2 separate regions of the Homo sapiens genome follow, and region 1 is linked to region 2. Evidence: promoter capture Hi-C in 16 types of primary human blood cells and fetal thymus (Javierre and others, 2016). All regions are on one chromosome and are shown on one strand. Each heading gives the region's core, a stretch centred on a gene start or on the middle of the fragment in contact. The rest is flanking DNA. Distances are from core to core; before and after follow the strand shown. Region 1 holds the start of USP12 (ubiquitin specific peptidase 12). Region 2 holds the start of SLC46A3 (solute carrier family 46 member 3).

Evidence for each region. The method cuts DNA at HindIII sites, captures the fragments that hold promoters and counts their contacts. A CHiCAGO score of 5 or more calls a contact.
Region 1: the fragment with the promoter of USP12 here is called in contact with the fragment with the promoter of SLC46A3 in region 2 in 1 of 17 cell types (monocytes); the score reaches 6.3 in monocytes.

The regions. Positions count from the first base shown.
Region 1 is chr13:27,169,678-27,174,466 of GRCh38, reverse strand. It overlaps USP12 (ubiquitin specific peptidase 12), which reads left to right and starts at 2,656. Exons shown (of 9, transcript NM_182488.4): 1 at 2,656-2,875. The coding sequence starts at 2,828. USP12-DT (USP12 divergent transcript) reads right to left here and starts at 2,208. Exons shown (of 2, transcript NR_046548.1): 1 at 2,095-2,208. RefSeq lists enhancers at 1,880-2,069, 3,570-3,679 and silencers at 2,130-2,769, 2,910-2,959, 3,020-3,109, 3,180-3,249, 3,280-3,329. The HindIII fragment of the contact is 5,306 bases long and covers 1,600-4,789 here.
Region 2 is chr13:28,717,025-28,721,984 of GRCh38, reverse strand. SLC46A3 (solute carrier family 46 member 3) reads left to right here and starts at 3,015. Exons shown (of 6, transcript NM_181785.4): 1 at 3,015-3,489; 2 at 3,963-4,175. The coding sequence starts at 3,987. It also overlaps the pseudogene CYP51A1P2. The HindIII fragment of the contact is 12,183 bases long and covers 1-4,960 here.

The sequences.
Region 1 (4,789 bases), core at 1,407-3,906, 1.5 Mb after region 2:
AAATTTAATTTAATTTAATTTTTGAGACGGAATCTTACTCTGTCGCCCAAGCTGGAGTGCAGTAGCATGATCTCGGCTCACTGGTTTTTCCCAGGTTCATGCGACTCTCCTGCCTCAGCCTCCCTAGTAGCTTGGATTACAGGTGCTCGCCACCATGCCCAACTAATTTTTGTAGTTTTAGTAGAGATGGGCTTTCTCCATGTTGGCCAGGTTGGTCTCAAACTCCTGACCTCAAGTGATCCGCCCGCCTTGGCCTCCCAAAGTGCTGGGATTACAACAGGCGAGAGCCACTGTGCTGTATTTTTGAGATACTGTTTCAGTCTGTCGCTCAGGCTACAGTGCAGTGGTTCAATCATGGCTCACTGCAACCTGGATATCTCGGGCTTAAGTTATCCTCTTACTTCGCCTCACAAGTAGCTGGGACTATAGGTATGCGCCACCATGCACCACGTATTTATTTTTATTTTTAGTAGAGACAAGGTCTCACTATGTTGCCCAGGCTGGTCTTGAACTCCCTGGTCTCAAGGAAGTTGGAAGCCATCCTCCTGCCTCAGCCTCCCAAAGTGCTGGGATTACAGGCCTGATCCACTGTGCCCAGCCTAGAAATTTATTTATTTATTTATTTTTGAGAGAGTCTCACTCTGTCACCCAGGCTGGGGTGCAATGGCACAATCCCAGTTCACTGCAATCTCCACCTCCAGGATCCAATCTATTCTTATGCCTCAGCCTCCTGAGTAGCTGGGATTACAGGCGTACACTGCTACGCCTGGCTAATTTTTGTATTTTAGTAGAGACGGGATTTCACCACGTTGGCCAGGCTGGTCTCCAACTCCTGACCTCAAGTGATCCACCTGCCTCGGCCTCCCAAAGTGCTGGAATTACAGGTGTGAGCCACCATACTCAGCCTAGAAATTCATTTTAGAAAGGCCTTGTTCTTATATAAACTTATATGTAAAGCCAGTGGCTTTTGTTCCTGTGACATGTTCGGATTAATGGACAAGGAGGCATATGGGTGGTTAGCGGGATGGAGGCAGGTCTAAAATTCTGGCACATCAGACCTGTTTGCTGGAATAGAACAGCAAGTGGGAAGGACAGGATGACCACAGCTATTTATCAGGACGGGCACACAGATGGGCATGGTGACACTCGGACAAGGCCCAGGTAGGCCCTAGAGGTCTAAGATGTAGAAACCCTTGTCCAAACAGGGGGTAGAAAAGAGCAAGAAAGAATTCAGGTGGGTGATGCTTGCAAGTATAGAGAGGAAAGCCCCTGGCTGGGGTATCAGGGCTCTTGGCTTCCATGGAGGCAGGCGCTTGGAGATCCAGTCCGGCTACCATGGGGCTTGGCTATATTCAATCTGCATTCCCCCCCCAAGCAAGCTTATAATGGAATCACTATGGAAACAGTATTCATGTACCAGAAGTCTATTTTTCACTTAAATTTTGTTTGAATGCTTTTTGTTTTTGAGTGCTTTGAACCCTTGAGGTGAGGCATTTCTGATTTTACAGCTCTGCCTGAATTCAGATCCTCAACCCCACTGAATTAGGGGAACCCAGAAAAGTACCCCATCACGAGTTCAATCAGAAAATATCACAAGCTTTCTAACATAATAATTTATGAAGTTATTCTACTCACTTGAACTACTTTCTCAAATAGGAAAAAATAAAGCTGAGCTGCCAGGCATGAAGAACAGGGTGCAAATATGAATTTTATAAAAGGAGAAAGAGGAACTACCCATGCCAGTAGCCAGCACTGCCTAAGGATTTCTCACAGGGCATTTTTCTTGCTTGCGGGCTTCCTGTCTCTGGTAATATCATCATCACTGCTGGCTTGAGATCCTCCCTATTTTGCAGCTCAATGTGCAGATATTTAGAAGCCTATTATAAATTTATCGCCAACAGGCCAACAGGTTTCGCTCCTCTCCTTCCCCCATTACTTATCTTTCTTCTTAATTCAAAGAGTTAAACATGTGTAATTTGTTCTTTGCCTCTTCATTTTTGTTTAATTATTTTGTCTTTTTCTAAGTTGTGTTTGACTCCGGTGATTCATCCAATATACGTAAAAAGAAACAAACCAAGTGCTTGGGACGCATACCCGGGTTATCTTAACTGTGCAGAGCAGGTTTCCTCCCACTCCGCCCGTAGTTACCCAGATCATCGCCTCCGTTTTCTGTTTAGGCAGCGGGGGCTCGCCGTCCCCTCGCCCGCGGTGGGTGTCGCAGCTGGTCCCCTCCAGGGTTCTCCCAGATCGCCGCCGCCACCCCCGCGCCTCCCCGCCGCACCCCTTCCTACGCGGGGGTCTCTGGGTCCCCGGCTCTAGGACCGCAGGGACGCGGGCAGGAGGTGGCGCCCGCCTTCGGTCCTGCCCTCTGCCGCGCGCGGGGTGGGGACGGACCGGAGTTCCCCGGCTCGCGCACAAGGGCCGCGGAGGGGTTGCCGAGGGGTGGGCGGGGCTGCGCCGCCTGGCCGCGCCGCTGCCTGGCAGGCCGGGCATTAGGGCCTCGGCGGAGCCCGCTCCCCTGTGCGCTGGGCGGGGTGGGCGGAGGGCGGCTTCGCGTGCAGGCGCGGGCCCGGAGGCAGCGGCTGCGCCCTGCGCCGGGGCGGAGCCGGGGGCGGGCCGGCGGCCGGCAGGCGGGGGCTGGGGCCCGAGGCCGGGAGTGCCTGAGCGCCGGCGGCGACGACGGCAGCGGCGGCCCAGCGGGCTCGGTGGTTGGGTCCGCGGCGGCTCGGGGTCCGCCCGCGGGCTGCGGTGCGAGCGGGCGGCCCGGCTCCCCTCCTCCCCCGCCCGCCGCCGCCGCTGTGATTGGGTGGAAGATGGCGCTGGCCGGATGGAAATCCTAATGACAGTCTCCAAATTCGCCTCCATCTGTACCATGGTAGGTGGCGGCGAGCGGGCGGCCGGGGCTGCCGGGACCTCTCGGGCGGGCGGGCGGCGCTGGACCCGCCTCTCCCAGTGGCCGCTCGCGGGGCCTAGCGCCGGGGCGGGCGGGCGGGCTGGGCGGCCCGGGCGGCCCGGGCGGGGGCGGTTGGACGGCGCGCAGGCGGGGAGCGCGGGGGTGAGCGGCCCAGGCGGCTGGGGAGGGGGCGCCGCCTGGTGGGCCAGGGCGGCGCGAGGGTAGCGGTGAGTGGGCGACCGTGCCAGACGCGGCGTCGGGCGGGCACCGGCCTCCGGGAGTCCCCGGCTGAACTGCTGGGGTCCGCTCGGGACGCGGGGACGAGGGCCGAGGCGCGCCCGGCCTGTGCCGGGGTGAGGGGTGGGCGCGCGCGAGCCAGAGCGCGGCCCCGGGCCGGGGTCGTCGGGGAGGGGGCGCGGAGCCGCGCGGGCTCCATTTCCTTCTGGTCGCGCGCCGAGCGGGAGGGGTCCCCGGGAGGGGTGGGGGTCGGCGGGCAGGAAGGAAGGGTCTCGGCCGGGGCGGGCAGCGCTCATTCCCGCCTGGGAGAGGACGGAAGTCAAGTGCAGATTTCCTCGCGCCGCTGGCTGGGCCGAGTCCCCGACCCCGCGCTGGGGGAAAGGGGCGTGTGTGAAGGTGGAAACTTTAAATAAGTACTGTTGAAATTCTCTCCATTTTCTCCTCTGAGAGGCACGAGCTCTCCCGTTTCCAGCCGTGTGTCCAGGTGGCAGTCTTGTCTCTGGGAATGCACGTTAATCTTGAAAAGCAGCATTAGCTTTCCTGTCATTTGTTTACTTCAGCCCACCAGACACATCTGTATGTGGCTGGAGCTAGGTCTGTCTGTGCGGGGACCGCCTGCCAAGGCGATGGTATTTGTTTTCCTAGGGCGTTTAAATAGACTGTAAGGGAAAAGTGCTAATGCCCGCTGGAAGTCCCGAATTAAGCAAAACGTGGGCGCGTTTAAAACTTGGTGTTTTGTGCGTGGCCAGAAGGACCACAGTTTTCCACATGATGAGACAAATTCGTTTCATTAGTTCCTCATGAGCTTATATGTAGGGATCATAATTTATGAGTCATCACCGAAAAAAGTTGTTCTTTGCAACGTGGGCCTAGTGGTTGTTATTAGAGACTTCTGAAATCTTGTGTTTCATGCCTCACTGGCCCTATTTATGCAACTGATTTCATATAGGAGATCCCCAAGAAATTTTCCATCTAAGGGTGGTACATTGTATATATTTTTCTTTAAGGAGTGGTGAATCAGATCTGAAAGATGCCTTAAAAAGCAGATTCTCTACTACACGCTGAGGAACAGTACAAAAAATGACTGAAATCAGGTGGACATAAAATCGACAGTATTAAAGAAATCATATTGAAGGATGAATCATTGAAGACTCCATTTCCCAACTGGATGATTGTTCTTTCTCACAGTTTACATTTTAGGAAAGCATTTGTATTAAATGGACTATATTAAAATGATTTTGGAGAATTGTTTGGGCTAATTATTTTTAGATACGCCAATTATTATCTTAGTCAATTTCAAAAGGAATGCGATAATTAGGTCTTTTACAGTGACAATTTTGCCACATGGCTGAGCTACACACATTGTATGGGTCATAGTTCATTGTCAAAGACTAGATTTCAGGAGTGGTGTGATACTCTTTACCGACTGTTCATTCACTCAAGTACTGTATATCAAGTATACACTTAGCAGCCACTAAGTGCTAGAGGCGACGCTGAGTACTGGGGATGCAGTATTGGTCAGGGCAGCCCCTGTTTTCTTGGTGTTTACATTCTTGCTCATGGACACAAACAGTATTCAGGTAAACAATAAATGTATGCTGTAATCAGATTAGGACAGTGAGACACAGGGATTTGCCAGGGTCACACACTTAGTAAGTG
Region 2 (4,960 bases), core at 1,766-4,265:
AGATACTTGGAAACCTCAGGTTATTATTTATCTGGGCAATTATTGTGTGGGTGAGGATGGAAGGGCAGGGAATAATTGAACATCTAAAGCCTTGAATGAGAGAATACTAATTCTTTTGGTATGATGATACTCAGAAATGGAGATGTTGTAGAAAAAAAATATCCTTTGGAATTTTAACTAAAATCACTGAATATAGGAAATTAAGAGATCCGGGACCATATTTGATAAGATTTCCTAAAAATAATGTAATTATTAATGCCAAAAACTGCTCATGTATCTTGATCTAATTACGAAATAATTACATATTTACCTGATAAATATGTATCTAGGTCTTCAAGGTCACATTTATGTGGAAGTCCAAAGTCAAGTCCTTAGGGGATAATTTTGTTTTGGCTCAGTTGTTCCCTGCTTCCTCTCTCTCTCTTTTTTTTTTTTTTTTTTTTTGAGATGGAGTCTCGCTCTGTCGCCCAGGCTGGAGTGCAGTGGCGCGATCTCAGCTCACTGCATCCTCCGCCTCCCGGGTTTAAGCAATTGTCTACATCAGCCTCCTGAGTAGTTGGGATTACAGGCACCTGCCACCACGCCTGGCTAATTTTTGTATTTTTAGTAGAGACAGGGTTTCACTCTTTTGGCTAGGCTGGTCTTGAACTCCTGACCTCGTGATCCACCCGCCTCGGCCTCCCAAAGTGCTGGGATTACAGGCATGAGCCACATGCCTGGCCCTCCCTGCTTCCTCTCTAGAATCCAATTAGGGATGTTTGTTACTACTTATGTTGATTAAAACAGTTAACAAACTTTTTTTCTTTTTAAAATGTGAGATCAGTGAACTCTGGTTTTAATATAATCTGAAACAAGGTCCTTGGGAGTAATATAATTGGTCACATTCTGTAAAGCACATTCTGTTTAGGAATCACTTATCTCAAATTATAACTCAGGGCCTAACTATATGAGATGGCTGAAAAAATACCACATTGTCTGTTTTCACTAGATGATGCCAAAATATTTTGCTTTACGTATATTACAGTTCTTTTTAAAACACTGGAAGACTCATGTTAAACTCTAATTGTGAAGGCAGAAACTCTGCTAATTTTTCACATTAAAATTCTCTTTGAAAAAATACAAAAAAAAAATGACTGTTGTCACCATAGCGATCAGCAGCAGAACTCATTAAGAAGACCTGGCTTTCTTCTTCGTGTGGAAGAGTAGGAATGCAAAGCGTGGAAGTATATTGGACATTAATTATTTTTGCCCCATAAGAAAGGACATTTTCAGCAGGGCACGGTGGCGCATGCCTGTAATCCCAGCACTTTGGGAGGCTGAGGTGGGCAGGTCCCCTGAGGTCAGGAGTTCAAGATCATCCTGGTCAACATGGTGAAACCCTGTCTCTACTAAAAATACAAAAATTAGCCGGCCATGGTGGCGCACACTTGTAACCCCAGCTACTCAGGAGGCTGAGGCAGGATCATTGCTTGAATCCGGGAGGCGGAGGTTGCAGTGAGCCAAGATCCTGCAACTGCACTCCGGCCTGGGTGACAGAGCGAGACTCCACCTCAAAAAAAAAAAAAAAAAAAAAGGACATCTTCTAAGTGCCGTTTAGAATAATATAGTACTTAGTACAAAGTACTGCAACTTAAAATATTATGTCTTCCTTGCAAACTGTATCTTACTCATGTTTGTTTATCTTCTTTCCAATATCCATGCTCCATTGTTTGAAACTCATAACAAGTGCTTCATAAATGCTGATTTGAAGAAGCTGGGAAGTAAGATTAAGTGGCAAGTCCAAGGTTACCAGCTACTAAGTATCAGTTAGGACTCAAACCTAAGACGTTTAACTCTGCATTCAGTGACACAACTGTCATTTAAGGAGTGCTGAGGAAGAGAAAGCAGCTCTGACATCCAGGTGCTGGAACTATCAGCTGGGCCTTGGTGTTGCTAAGAACTTTTCTGGACCATGGTGTTCTGTCGAATGAAAACAATTTCACGGAACACCAAAGTCAGACAAGAGCATTCTGTAACCATGATCAAGACAAAAACAAGACCACGTCATAATTTTGTCTGAACACGGACAAAATTTAGGCACTGTCTAAACCACAAAAATGACAAATATGTGTGACTGTTGCTTCTTTATCATTCATGGCTTTAGCCTCTGTCTAGTCTTGACTCCTAAATAAGACTTATTAAGATACCCAATCATAGAATTACTGCCATTTCCTGACAGCAACCAATCCAGAGTAAGGCCTTGCTTTCTTGAACTCTTCCCAAAATCACATAACGCAAGCCCATAGTAAATTCTAACACCTTCTTACTGAGATGCCCCCACGGTTCCTCATGCATGCATTTCTCCTGGCTTCAAGAAGTAGTAGCTCAATTCTTTTACTACAAGTTGTTCCTGGTGGGTGTGTTGGAGAGCACTGACAACTCCTCCTATGTCCAGGGGCTGTGTTGTGTATACATGCTGAGTGTTTAATTAGACAACCCTGTAAGACTTATCATCCCCACGTGGCAGATAAAGACATGGAGGTTCATGAAAATTTAACGATTTGCCCAAGTCCCCCCTCCCCTCCCCAGGAAAAGCCAGCGACCACATTCCAACCCTCCGCTAACTCTGCATTGAGCACTCTCTTTCCTATGCCCTCCACCTGCGCCCATTCCCCTCTTCTGCGGGCCGACCGGGATCCTGCTGGGGGCTACAGCCCAAACATGTTACTTTTCCAACTGTTGTTTTATGTGTTTCTATGAGAAAGGATATTCGGATTCAGAAATGCTTTGCAACTCCAGAGCTGTTGAGCCTGCGGCGCGGCCCACCACTCAACAGCGGTGCTGAGTGGCTGCTCGGTCGCGCGGGATCCACTCCGGGCCTCCGAGGGTGGGTGCACGATCCACTAGCCACTCTCCAGGGGAGAGTGACGTCCGGGTGGACCAATCGCCGCTGGGGCACCGACCGCTGGGCCCAATCGCAGGAGAGCCGGGTAGAACAGTGACAGCGCCGCGGCAGCCGACCCCGCCTCCTCGGCGGACAGCGATGCTCAGCTGGCTGCGGCCGAGTCATCGCCTAGCGCTGGCAGGGCCGCTGACCGACCGACGGAGGCGCCGATTGGCCGATTGTCCACTGCGCAGAAGGAGCAGCTGCTCCGCGCCCCGCCGCGCCGCGCTGAGGCCGAGGTCCGCAGGGCCGCGGGGAAGCCGAGGGCTGCCGGAGAACCCTGCAGGTGTCACTCGGGACGCGGAAGTGCGCTTGCCGAGGTTTGCTTTACAATACGCTTGAGACTCCCCGACAAGCGTAATTTGGTCGAGTTCGACGGGAAAGTACTCTCCCCACCCCAGCGCCGGCCGCGTAGTCCGAGGTTACTGTCCCCGGCGCGTCCTCTGTTGCCCCAGTCCAGAGGCTGCCCTTGAACCCGGGCGCGCACGAGCGCAGGGCATCCGAGGCGACAGCCCCTGGCACGGCCCGACCTGTACCCAGCCTGGCAGGAAGACTGTAATCGTGGGGTGAGTTAAAAATAAGGCCCTTTCGATTGGGAGCTGCTTTTTAAAACGCCCCCTCCCTGTCCGTTTTTAATACGCAGCAAAATAACAATAACAATTGTGCAACTGTCGCTTCCCAAAAGGAACCTCATTGTTGAACTTACGAAAAATCAGTTGGCAATATACAGTGTGGGAACTGTACTGTGATCATTGGCTAACCAAGATGGGTGACAGTTTATGATTTCAAAGACTCAAAGGCGGCTTGAGTCCTACAATGTCCTACTCATAAAAATGGAAAGCATGGCAGCCTCAGGTTGTTACAGAGTACTCTACTCCAAAGTAAAAGTTATTCTCTGAGAAAGTGCTTACTGCCTTTTCTGTTCTCTAGTTTGCTTGTTTAAACATTTACTCCACAAAATTGCTCAAACTTACCCATCTTTGAATATCTAGCCTCTGGGATGAGACAGATGATCTTTCTCCGTTTTCACTTTTTATAGAATACAGCTACCTACCCAGGCAATATGAAGATTTTATTTGTAGAACCTGCCATTTTCCTTAGTGCATTTGCTATGACTTTGACCGGTCCACTGACAACGCAATATGTTTATCGGAGAATATGGGAAGAAACTGGCAACTACACTTTTTCATCTGATAGCAATATTTCTGAGTGTGAAAAAAACAAAAGCAGCCCAATTTTTGCATTCCAGGAGGTAAGAAATTACAATATCCATAGTATTTAATAAAATGGGAATGTATACCGGGCTTTGAGTTAAAGAGGACCGTGAACTCATCATCCATTGGTCTCTCTAGGGCGGCCATCAAAGTCCTAAATCCCAAACCTAATGGCCTTTACTGGGAACTCACCTCATTTGAAGTTTCCTGACACCTTTCAAATCTGCCTCTTCTTCTTAAAACACCCTCCTGCTCTGTGACACTAGCTCTTCTCCTTTCTCTCGGAAAATTTCACCACAGTGTCATCTCTTCTGTGGCTGTCTCCTTGCTTTGTCCTAAAAAAAAAAAAAAAAAAAAAAAAAGTCTGAAAATTGGGGCAGGGCAGGCTGGAATGAGCTACTTGGTGGACAGGGGTGGCTGAAACATGGTGTTTCTGTCTCTCACTTGCTCTATTCTTCCCCAATCCTTTTACTGTTTCTGCATGTCCCAGCTTTCAGGGACTCTAGAAAGTGGCCCATCACTGAAGATTGTGAGCCAGTGTCTGTCACAGGGTGGGGTGGAGGAGCATTTATTATTTGGTGGTGGTATCAAATCAGCCTTGGCTCTCACGTGTTGAGGAGCAGCTGTGTGGGGACATCTGGAGTGGGGAGTACCCACCGTTGACACCAAAGATGTTTAGCCAGATATTAAGGAGGCTTTCTTCCTCCCTCTCCAGCAATCTCCCCAGTTTTTTTGTGTGTAAAACAGGAGGCAGGCACTTCACCATTCTCCTGGTCCCTTGGGCAGTTTTTGACAAAAGTCTACCATTTCAAAATGCAAAGAG